Regions from separate parts of the Homo sapiens genome. Here all the other regions are linked to region 1. Evidence: promoter capture Hi-C in human tissues and cell types (Jung and others, 2019). All regions are on one chromosome and are shown on one strand. The core of a region is centred on a gene start or on the middle of the fragment in contact, and the rest is flanking DNA. Distances in the headings are between cores, read along the strand shown.

Region 1 (2,898 bases), core at 84-2,583:
CCAAGCGTTTGAGACAATTCGACAAGATTATGAGACTGCGAACTGGAGTCTTTTATCTTTAAAAGGTATTTTAATCTGAGCCTTCTTGACGTTTATTTTCTGAGCCCATGAATTTGCTAGCGAGGCAGTTTCTCTGGTTTGCTGTTTCTGAAAGGAGTTCCCTCAACAGAGTACAACAGTTAATGGGGGAAGTGGAAACAAAAGCGGGAAGCAGGAGGACCGTTCCCCATCACTAGCCAGTCTTCAACAGGTGAAGTTGTTTAGCTCTTCCTGGTACCTGCAGGCACCGTTCCAGAAGTATTAAAATCCAAGGTGTGGCTGAGGGTGGGATGGAACATGTATCTCCATCTAACAGCTTTAATAGACTGTTAGTTCTAACTTGCATATAAAAACACACAAATAAGTACAAAGAGCTGGAGAAGCTGGGGAAACAGTTTCTGAGTAAAACCTGTGGCACTAGGTTGTGTCTTTCCTTTCCCCTCAGGCAAGAGCATCATCTGTTTGACTGGCATCTGGCTGGAGCGTCCGAAGGGGTTAAGAACGCTTGCAAACTCCTGGGAGTCCAGTAGGAGTTGCTGATGGTGCCGGACATTGCTTGCAAAGCAATTTTTGTGGTTCACCTCCCTCGGGGTTTTCTTATTCTTTTGTAGGACATTCAAGGAGTTGGTTTGGGCATTTACTTTTTAAAGTTTCTCCGTCCCAGACTCCTCTCTCCAGCTCCCGGGGTGCGGCACCTCTCACCTCCCTGAGGCTTTTTGTCTCGCTGCAGGCGTGGGGAGGGGGCGAGAGGACTTTGTTCTCCGAAAACGACCTTGCCCTGGGAATTTCCTGGGGCCGTTTCTCACGGACAAGCCCCCTCTCCCTGCTGCCAGCGCGGACACACGCCGCGGGGGCCCCAGTCCAGCCTGAGCTCTAGACGCCCCGCCGGCCACCAGCGCCCCGGGAAAGGCCGCCCGCGCTCCCCCGCTCCCCCTCCTCAGGGCCCGCCGCCTAGAGCCCGGATGTTGGATTCAATTCCTGAGCCGGGTCCTTCATTTCCATAAAAGGGCAGCGCTCCGCGGGGCCGAGATTGCCGCCCCGCCGCGCCCCCCGCCACCCCCGCGCCGCCCCGCCCCACGCCGCCCCGCCCCGCCCGGGACCCGCAGCCCCCTCCCCCGAGCGCGGCGCCGGGAGGGCGGGGGCAGAGGCGAGGCCGGCCGGACCCGCTCAGGGCAGCTCTGCGGGCGGCGAAGGAGGGAGCCAGCGCGCCCAGCCCAGCCAGGCTCGGACAGAGGGGGCGGGGAGAGGGTGGAGCGCGGGGAGCCAGGCGAGGGGCCGCGACGACGGGACTCCATTAGCCGCTCCGGCCACAGGCAGCGCTTCGCCAGCCGAGGAACCGGACGCGGACACCGCCGCCCCGCGAGCCTCCAGCCCCTCGCCTGTTGCCGCGCGAGTCCCGGGCCCGGAGCGCTAGGAGCGCGCGGTGAGGGAGCGGGACCCCGCCGGGACCCGAGGGGGCGCGGCGGGGAGGGGAACGGGGAGTCAGCCCGCGCTGTGTCTCGGGGCCGGCCGGCAGGTGAAGCCCTCCGCGGTCCGCTAGGCGGGGACGGTGTGGGGCGGGCGGCGCCGGGACCGAGGAACGCTGCGGGGCGAGCGGGGCGTAGGGTCCTCCCGCAGCCCCGGCCGCCGCCGCCCTCCCGAGTTTCTGCCGAAAGCCCCGGGTCCTCCACCACCTCCCAGCCCGTGGCCGGCGCTGCGAATTCGGTGGGATTCGCCTTTCTTTGGGGGAGTGACGCTTACGAGAGCCATTTCCTCCGCGCTCGCAGGAAGGAGCCATGGCTCTGGACGGGATAAGGATGCCAGATGGCTGCTACGCGGACGGGACGTGGGAACTGAGTGTCCATGTGACGGACCTGAACCGCGATGTCACCCTGAGAGTGACCGGCGAGGTGCACATTGGAGGCGTGATGCTTAAGCTGGTGGAGAAACTCGGTGAGTAGCATCCCAGCCGCGTCCAACTAATGACTTCCCAGAATTGGTAGGGGGAGGAAAGAGGCTCACGACGGGGGAGGGGCCCATTTGAGAAATCTTGGCATCTCGCAAATGCTTTTTGGAGATGTAAAATCTTTCAGTATTTAAGCAGATAGACCTGTTCCCCTTTGCGTCTTATTTTGTTTTGCTATTCTCTGAATTTTCATATGTAATGATTCGAGCCTCCCAATTATAACCTTAATTGCGTAGTTACGCGGGACGGGGGATGTGTGCCGGGGAACTCGTTAATTCTTAACATTTACTGACAGAACGATAAAAGAATGAGGAAAGTGTGTTGGGAGGGTGATATTACAGTGTCCGTGGTTATCTATGTCTTCAGCATACCTGAATGTTAGTGACGTTTGGTATAGAGAATGATGCAAAATCCATTTAAGAAAAATCTGTGCTGGAAAATGTGCAACTACTGGCGCCAGTGTGAAGTTTCTGTGGCTGTTCTACGTGGTGGAGTGCATTAAAATGTTCCAGTCATCCACTCTTACTAGGGGTGGGGCAGTGCTTGACAAACTTGGTATCCATAGTCCATGCTCGATGTAAGCCGTTTCGAGCGTTCGGTTTTATATTAATAACAAGCCAAGGAAAGAACTTTGTGTTAAAAAGCAGACTTTGTTAAACTAATTTGAGGTTGACGGTGTTTGCTTGAGTACAAATATGTATTGGATTGATATCCGATTTAAAATAATAAGGTATCTTACAGTATGAAGTGTGTGAAGAGTGTGCAGTACACATTTTTGTGATGAATGAAACCATTTTCATCTGGAAGAGTCAGCTAAATAGATGATTTGATCATAAGAGAAATGCTCAGAGAACTATCTTCCTGAGCTTTAAAGAGCCTTTTGTACATAATACAGTTGTGATAAGATGATTATC
Region 2 (2,806 bases), core at 224-2,723, 170 kb before region 1:
CTTTTTGTTGATGTTGATGCTGTTCCTTTCTGTTTGTTAATTTTCCTTCTGACAGTCAGGTCCCTCAGCTGCAGGTCTGTTGGAGTTTGCTGGAGGTCCACTCCAGACCCTGTTTGCCTGGGTATCACCAGCGGAGGCTGCAGAACAACAAATATTGCTGCTTGATCCTTCCTCTGGAAGCTTCGTCCCAGAGGGGCACCCGCCTGTTTGAGGTGTCTGTCGGCCAATACTGGGAGGTGTTTCCCAGTCAGGCAACACAGGGGTCAGGGACCCGCTTGAGGAGGCAATCTGTCCATTCTCAGAGTTCGAATGCCCTGCTGAGAGAATCACTACTCCCTTCAGAGCTGTCAGCCAGGGATGTTTAAGTCTGCAGAAGCTGTCTGCTGCCTTTTGTTCAGCTGTGCCCTGCCCCCAGAGGTGGAATCTATAGAGGCAGTAGGCCTTGCTGAGCTGCAGTGGGTTCTGCCCAGTTTGTGCTTCCTGGCCTCTTTGTTTACACTGTGAGCTACTTAAGCCCCAGCAATGGCAGATGCCCCTTTCCCCCACCAGGCTACAGCCTCAAAGGTTGATCTCAGACTGTTGCGCTAGCAGTGAGCAAGGCTCCGTGGGTGTGGGACCTGCCAAACCAGTGACAGGAGGGTATCTCCTGGTCTGCCGGTTGCTAAGACTGTGGGAATAGTGCAGTATTTGGTGAGGAGTGTACCATTTCTCCAGGTACAGTCTGTCACAGCTTCCCTTGGCTAGGAAAGGGAAATCCCCTGACCCTTTCTGCTTCCTGGGTGAGGCGACGCCCCACCATACTTCAGCTTGCCCTCCGTGAGCTGCACCCACTGTCCAACCAGTCCCAATGAGATGAACCAGGTACCTCAGTTGGAAATGCAGAAATCATTCACTTCTGTGTCGATCTCACTGGGAGCTGCAGACCAGAGCTGTTCCTATTTGGCCATCTTGGAAGGGACCCCTATTTCTTCTAGATTTTCTGCTTTATTTGCATAGAGGTGTTTATGGTATTATCTGATGGTAGTTTGTATTTCTGTGGGATTAGTGGTGATATCCCTTTTATCATTTTCATGTGCCTATTTGATTCTTCTCTCTTTTCTTCTTTATTAGTCTAGCTAGCAGTCTATTTTGTTAATTCTTCTCTCTTTTCTTTATTAGTCTAGCTAGCAGTCTATCAATTTTGTTAATCTTTTCAAAAACCAAGCTCCTGGATTCATTGATTTTTTGAAAGGTTTTTTGTGTCCTCTATCTCCTTTAGTTCTGCTCTATTTCTTGCTTCTGCCAGCTTTTGAATTTGTTTGCTCTTGCTTCTCTAGTTCTTTTCATTGCGATGTTAGGATGTTGGTTTTCTGTCTTTCTTGCTTTCTGATGTGGGTATTTAGTGCTATAAATTTCCATCTTAACACCGCTTTAGCTGTGTCCCAGAAATCCTCACTCGTTGTCTCTTTGTTCTCATTGGTTTCAAAGAACTTCTTTATTTCTGCCTTAATTTCATGATTTACCCAGTAGTCATTCAGGAGCAGGTTGTTTGATTTCCATGTAGTTGTGTGGTTTTGAGTGAGATTCTTAATCCTGAGTTCTAATTTGATTGCACTGTGGTCTGAGAGACTGTTTGTTATGATTTCCATTCTTTTGCATTTGTTGAGGATTGTTTTACTTCCAATTATGTGGTCATTTTAGAATAAGTGCTATGTGGCACTGAGAAGAATATATATTCTGTTGATTGGGGTGGAGAGTTCCGTAGATGTCTATTAGGTCATCTTGGTCCAGAGTTGAGTTCAAGTCCTGAATATCCTTGTTAATTTTCTGTCTCATTGATCCGTCTAATATTGACAGTGGTAGTTAAAGTCTCCTATTATTATTGTGTGGGAGTCTTAAGTCTCTTTCTAGGTCTCTAAGAATTTGTTTTATGAATCTGGGTGCTCCCGTATTGGGTGTGTATATATTTAGGATAGTTAGCTCTCCTTGTTGCATTGATCCCTTTACCATTATGTAATGTCCTTCTTTGTCTTTTTTGATCCTTGTTGGTAAAGTCTGTTTTATTAGAGATTAGGATTGCAACCCCTGCTTTTTTTTCCCATTGCATTTGCTTGGTAAATGTTCCTCCATCCCTTTATTTTGAGCCTTTGTGTGTCTTTGCACATGAGATGGGTCTCTTGAATACAGCACACCAATGGGTCTTGACTCTATCCAGTTTTCCAGTCTGTATCTTTTAATTGGGGCAGTTAGCCCATGTACATTTAAGGTTAATATTGTTATGTGTGAATTTGATCCTGTTATTGTGATGCTAGCTGGTTATTTTGCACATCATTTGATGTGGTTTCTTCATAATGTCATTGGTCTTTATATTTTGTTTTGTTTTTGCAGTGGCTGGTATCGGTTTTTCCTTTCCATATTTAGTGCTTCCTTCAGGAGTTCTTGTAAGGCAGGCTTGGTGATGACAAAATCCCTAGGCATCTGCTTGTCTGTAAAGGATTTTATTTCTCCTTTGGTTATGAAGCTTAGTTTGGCTGGATATGAAATTCCGGGTTGCAAATTCTTTTCCTTAAGAATGTTGAATATTGGCCCCCACTGTCTTCTGGCTTGTAAAGTTTCTGCAGAGAAATCTGATGTTAATCTGATAGGCTTCCCTTTGTAGATAACCTGACCTTTCTCTCTGGATGCCCTTAACCTTTTTTCCTTTGTTTCAGCCTTGGAGAATCTGATCATTATGTGTCTTGGGGTTGCTCTTCTTGAGCAGTATCTTAGTGGTGGTCTCTGTGTTTCCTGAATTTGAATGTTGGCCTGCCTTGCTAGGCTGGGGAAG
Region 3 (3,001 bases), core at 312-2,811, 190 kb after region 1:
TAATGAATAACTGAATTAGATAAAACATTATGGTCAGATATTTCACAGGTGCCATATACTAATGCATTAAGAGACAAGTAACTCCAATCTAATTTAAATTGATCCATGGCACAAAGAGAAATGGAAAGCTTCCACTAAAAAATGAGAACACTGTGACAGAGATAGTAAAACCAGAAAAGGATAGTACAGAAAAAAAAAAGAAAGACAAACCAATTTACTATTTAACTGATTCCAAAATCCTGAACAAAAAGATTAGCAAATACAATCCAGCAATACATTAACAGAACAGTCTATCATAACCAAGTGGGATCCATTGCTGGACCAAAAGGATGATTCAATATTAGGAAATCCAATCTAATGTGATCCAGTAACTCAAGTCACCATATTAACGGTTCAAAAACTAGAACTAGCCATTCCATAAGCACCTTAAAAAAGAAAACTTCAAACTTCTAAAGGACATATCAGAATTTGGTATAAAATAAAAATGATATTTCAAATCGGTAGGCTATAAATAGATTTCCATAATATAAAAAGAGCTCTTACAAACCGGTGAGAGGAACACCAACAAATGATCACAAAAATCTGATAAAACATTTTTGGGCCAGGAGTGGTGGCTCACGCCTGTAATTCCAGCACTTTGAGAGGCCAAGGTGGGTGGATCACCTGAGGTCAGGAGTTCAAGACCATCCTGGGCAACATGGCAAAACCCTATCTCTATTTTTTTTTTTCTTTTGTGACGAAGTCTTGCTCTTGTTCCGCAGGCTGGAGTGCAATGATGCCATCTCGGCTCACTGCAACCTCCGCCTCCCGAGTTCAAGCAATTCTCCTGCCTCAGCCTCCCAAGTAGCTGGGATTACAGGCACCTGCCACCACGCCTGGCTAATTTTTGTAATTTTAGTAGAGACAGGGTTTCACGATGTTGGCCAGGCTGGTCTCAAACTCCTGATCTCAGGTGATCCACCCACCTCAGCCTCCCAAAGTGTTGGGATTACAGGCGTGAGCCACCACACCCGGCCATCCCATCTCTATTAAAAATACAAAAATTACCTGGGCGTGGTGGCACGTGCCTGTAATCCCAGCTACTTGGGAGGCTGAGGCAGGAGAATTGTTTGAACCTGGGAGGTGGAGGTTGCAGTGAACCGAGATGGCGCCATTGCACTCCAGCCTGGGTGACAGAGCAAGACTCCATCTCAAAAAAAAAAAAAAAAAAAACTTTTGGCTACTGGTGTTAATTAGGGTAGGAGGAAATAGGCACTCGGAGGAATAGGCACTTTTTGTTTCCTGGTGATATAAGTTTATTATTACTTCATCTTTTTTGGAGGCAATCTGGAAACATCTATCAAATTTCAAAGGCACTGGAATCCACCAATTCCACTTCAGTTACCTTACAGGTATATTCACACAGATGTACCTATCAGGATATTTCCAATATTCTTTTTTTTTTTTTTTTGACACGGAGTTTTGTTCTTGTTGCCCAGGCTGGAGTGCAATGGCATGATCTCAGCTCACCACAACCTCCGCCTCCCAGGTTCAAGCGATTCTCCTGCCTCAGCCTCCTGAGTAGCTGGGATTACAGGCATGCATCACCACATCCAGCTAATTTTGTAGTTTTAGTAGAGATGGGGTTTCCCCATGTTGGCCAGGCTGGTCTCGAACTCCTGACCTCAGGTGTTCCACTCACCTCGGCCTCCCTAAGTGCTGGGATTACAGGTGTGAGCCACTGAGCCAGGCCAATCTTCTTAAACATATGTATATACTATTCTTTCAAATACAAAAATTAATTTTAAAAAAGAATGTTTTTACACATTTGAAAACAAGTAAGAGCATTATTGGATTGTTTGTAACACAAAGGATAAATGATTGAGGGGATGGATACTCTATTTTTCCATGATGTGATTATTACACATTGCATGCCTGTATCGAAATACCTAACCTACTATGTATCCACAAAAAAAAGAAAAGCTTAAAAAATAGTTTAAAAAAAATGAAAAAAAACAATGTTTTCTACAACATGGTAAAAGGCAAAGAAACTTACAAAGTTAGAAGACAAACATTTTACATGAACAGGCTGAACACAGATGACACTGTTTCTCTTTTGAATGTAGTAAAAATTAAAAGTAAATTAAATATTAAAATAAAATTTAAACCTTGGTAACTATAACAATATATTTTGTAATAAATATTCTTGATGTTGAAACATGAGCTTTATTCCTACATAATTGGATGTAATTAGCCAGAGCACATTCTGCAGCCTATGATTTTGCCTCTTGGAATAAACTGAGCAACGTGGTCTAATTAGGTTAATTCATAGACTTATCATCTTTGTCAGTGCATCTGCCAGGCATCAACAAAATATGAAACAACATGGAAAAGATAAACATAGAATAGAAAAAGCTGTTATAGTTAGTATACTTAGAATCAAAACTGTCTTATGCTCTGTGTGATCAAAATGAACAACAAAAAAAAATCAGACATTTCTAACAGCAATTATTTTACTTTAGATTTGATAATGTGTCTTTAACCCTTTTTTCTTGGTAATGCCAGCCTTTAAGAAAAAAAAGTTTTTTTAATTTTTTAGGGATGGGGTCTCACTCTGTGGGCCAGGCTGGAGTGCAAAGGCACACTGTTCACTGTAGCCTCAAACTCCTGGGCTCAAGCAATCCTCCCATCTCAGCCTCCTGAGTAGCTGGGACCACAGCCATGCACCACCATGACTGGCTAATTTTTTTTTAATTTTTTATTTTTTAGAGATTGGGTCTCACTTTGTTGCTCAGGCTGATCTCATACTTCTGGCCTCAAGCAATCCAAATGCCTTGTTCTCCCAAAGTGCTGTGATTATAGGTATAAGCCACCACACCCAGCCAAGAAAATACTTCTAAATAGAGATATAAACTTGAATAAAGCATCAAAGTAGTCAGATTATGGCAATTTTAAGTATTCACAAAGTAAATTGTACACCTAAATTACATGTATAAAAGATTTTATATCTTACTTCTGATTG

What was found. The method cuts DNA at HindIII sites, captures the fragments that hold promoters and counts their contacts. A contact is called where the count stands out against the background at its distance.
Region 2: a contact is called between a fragment that was not itself captured here and the fragment with the promoter of FERMT2 in region 1, in 1 of the 25 tissues and cell types used here (aorta).
Region 3: a fragment that was not itself captured here is called in contact with the fragment with the promoter of FERMT2 in region 1 in 1 of the 25 tissues and cell types used here (mesendoderm cells).

The regions. Positions count from the first base shown.
Region 1 is chr14:52,949,485-52,952,382 of GRCh38, reverse strand. FERMT2 (FERM domain containing kindlin 2) reads left to right here and starts at 1,333. Exons shown (of 15, transcript NM_006832.3): 1 at 1,333-1,462; 2 at 1,806-1,971. The coding sequence starts at 1,815. RefSeq lists an enhancer at 56-634 and a silencer at 1,355-1,564. The HindIII fragment of the contact is 21,614 bases long and covers 1-2,898 here.
Region 2 is chr14:53,115,324-53,118,129 of GRCh38, reverse strand. The region is part of intron 1 of DDHD1 (DDHD domain containing 1); the gene reads left to right. Among named protein-coding and RNA genes, the nearest start is that of DDHD1, 37 kb to the left of the region's middle. The HindIII fragment of the contact is 3,158 bases long and covers 1-2,806 here.
Region 3 is chr14:52,759,778-52,762,778 of GRCh38, reverse strand. The region is part of intron 9 of STYX (serine/threonine/tyrosine interacting protein); the gene reads right to left. Among named protein-coding and RNA genes, the nearest start is that of GNPNAT1, 30 kb to the left of the region's middle. The HindIII fragment of the contact is 4,612 bases long and covers 1-3,001 here.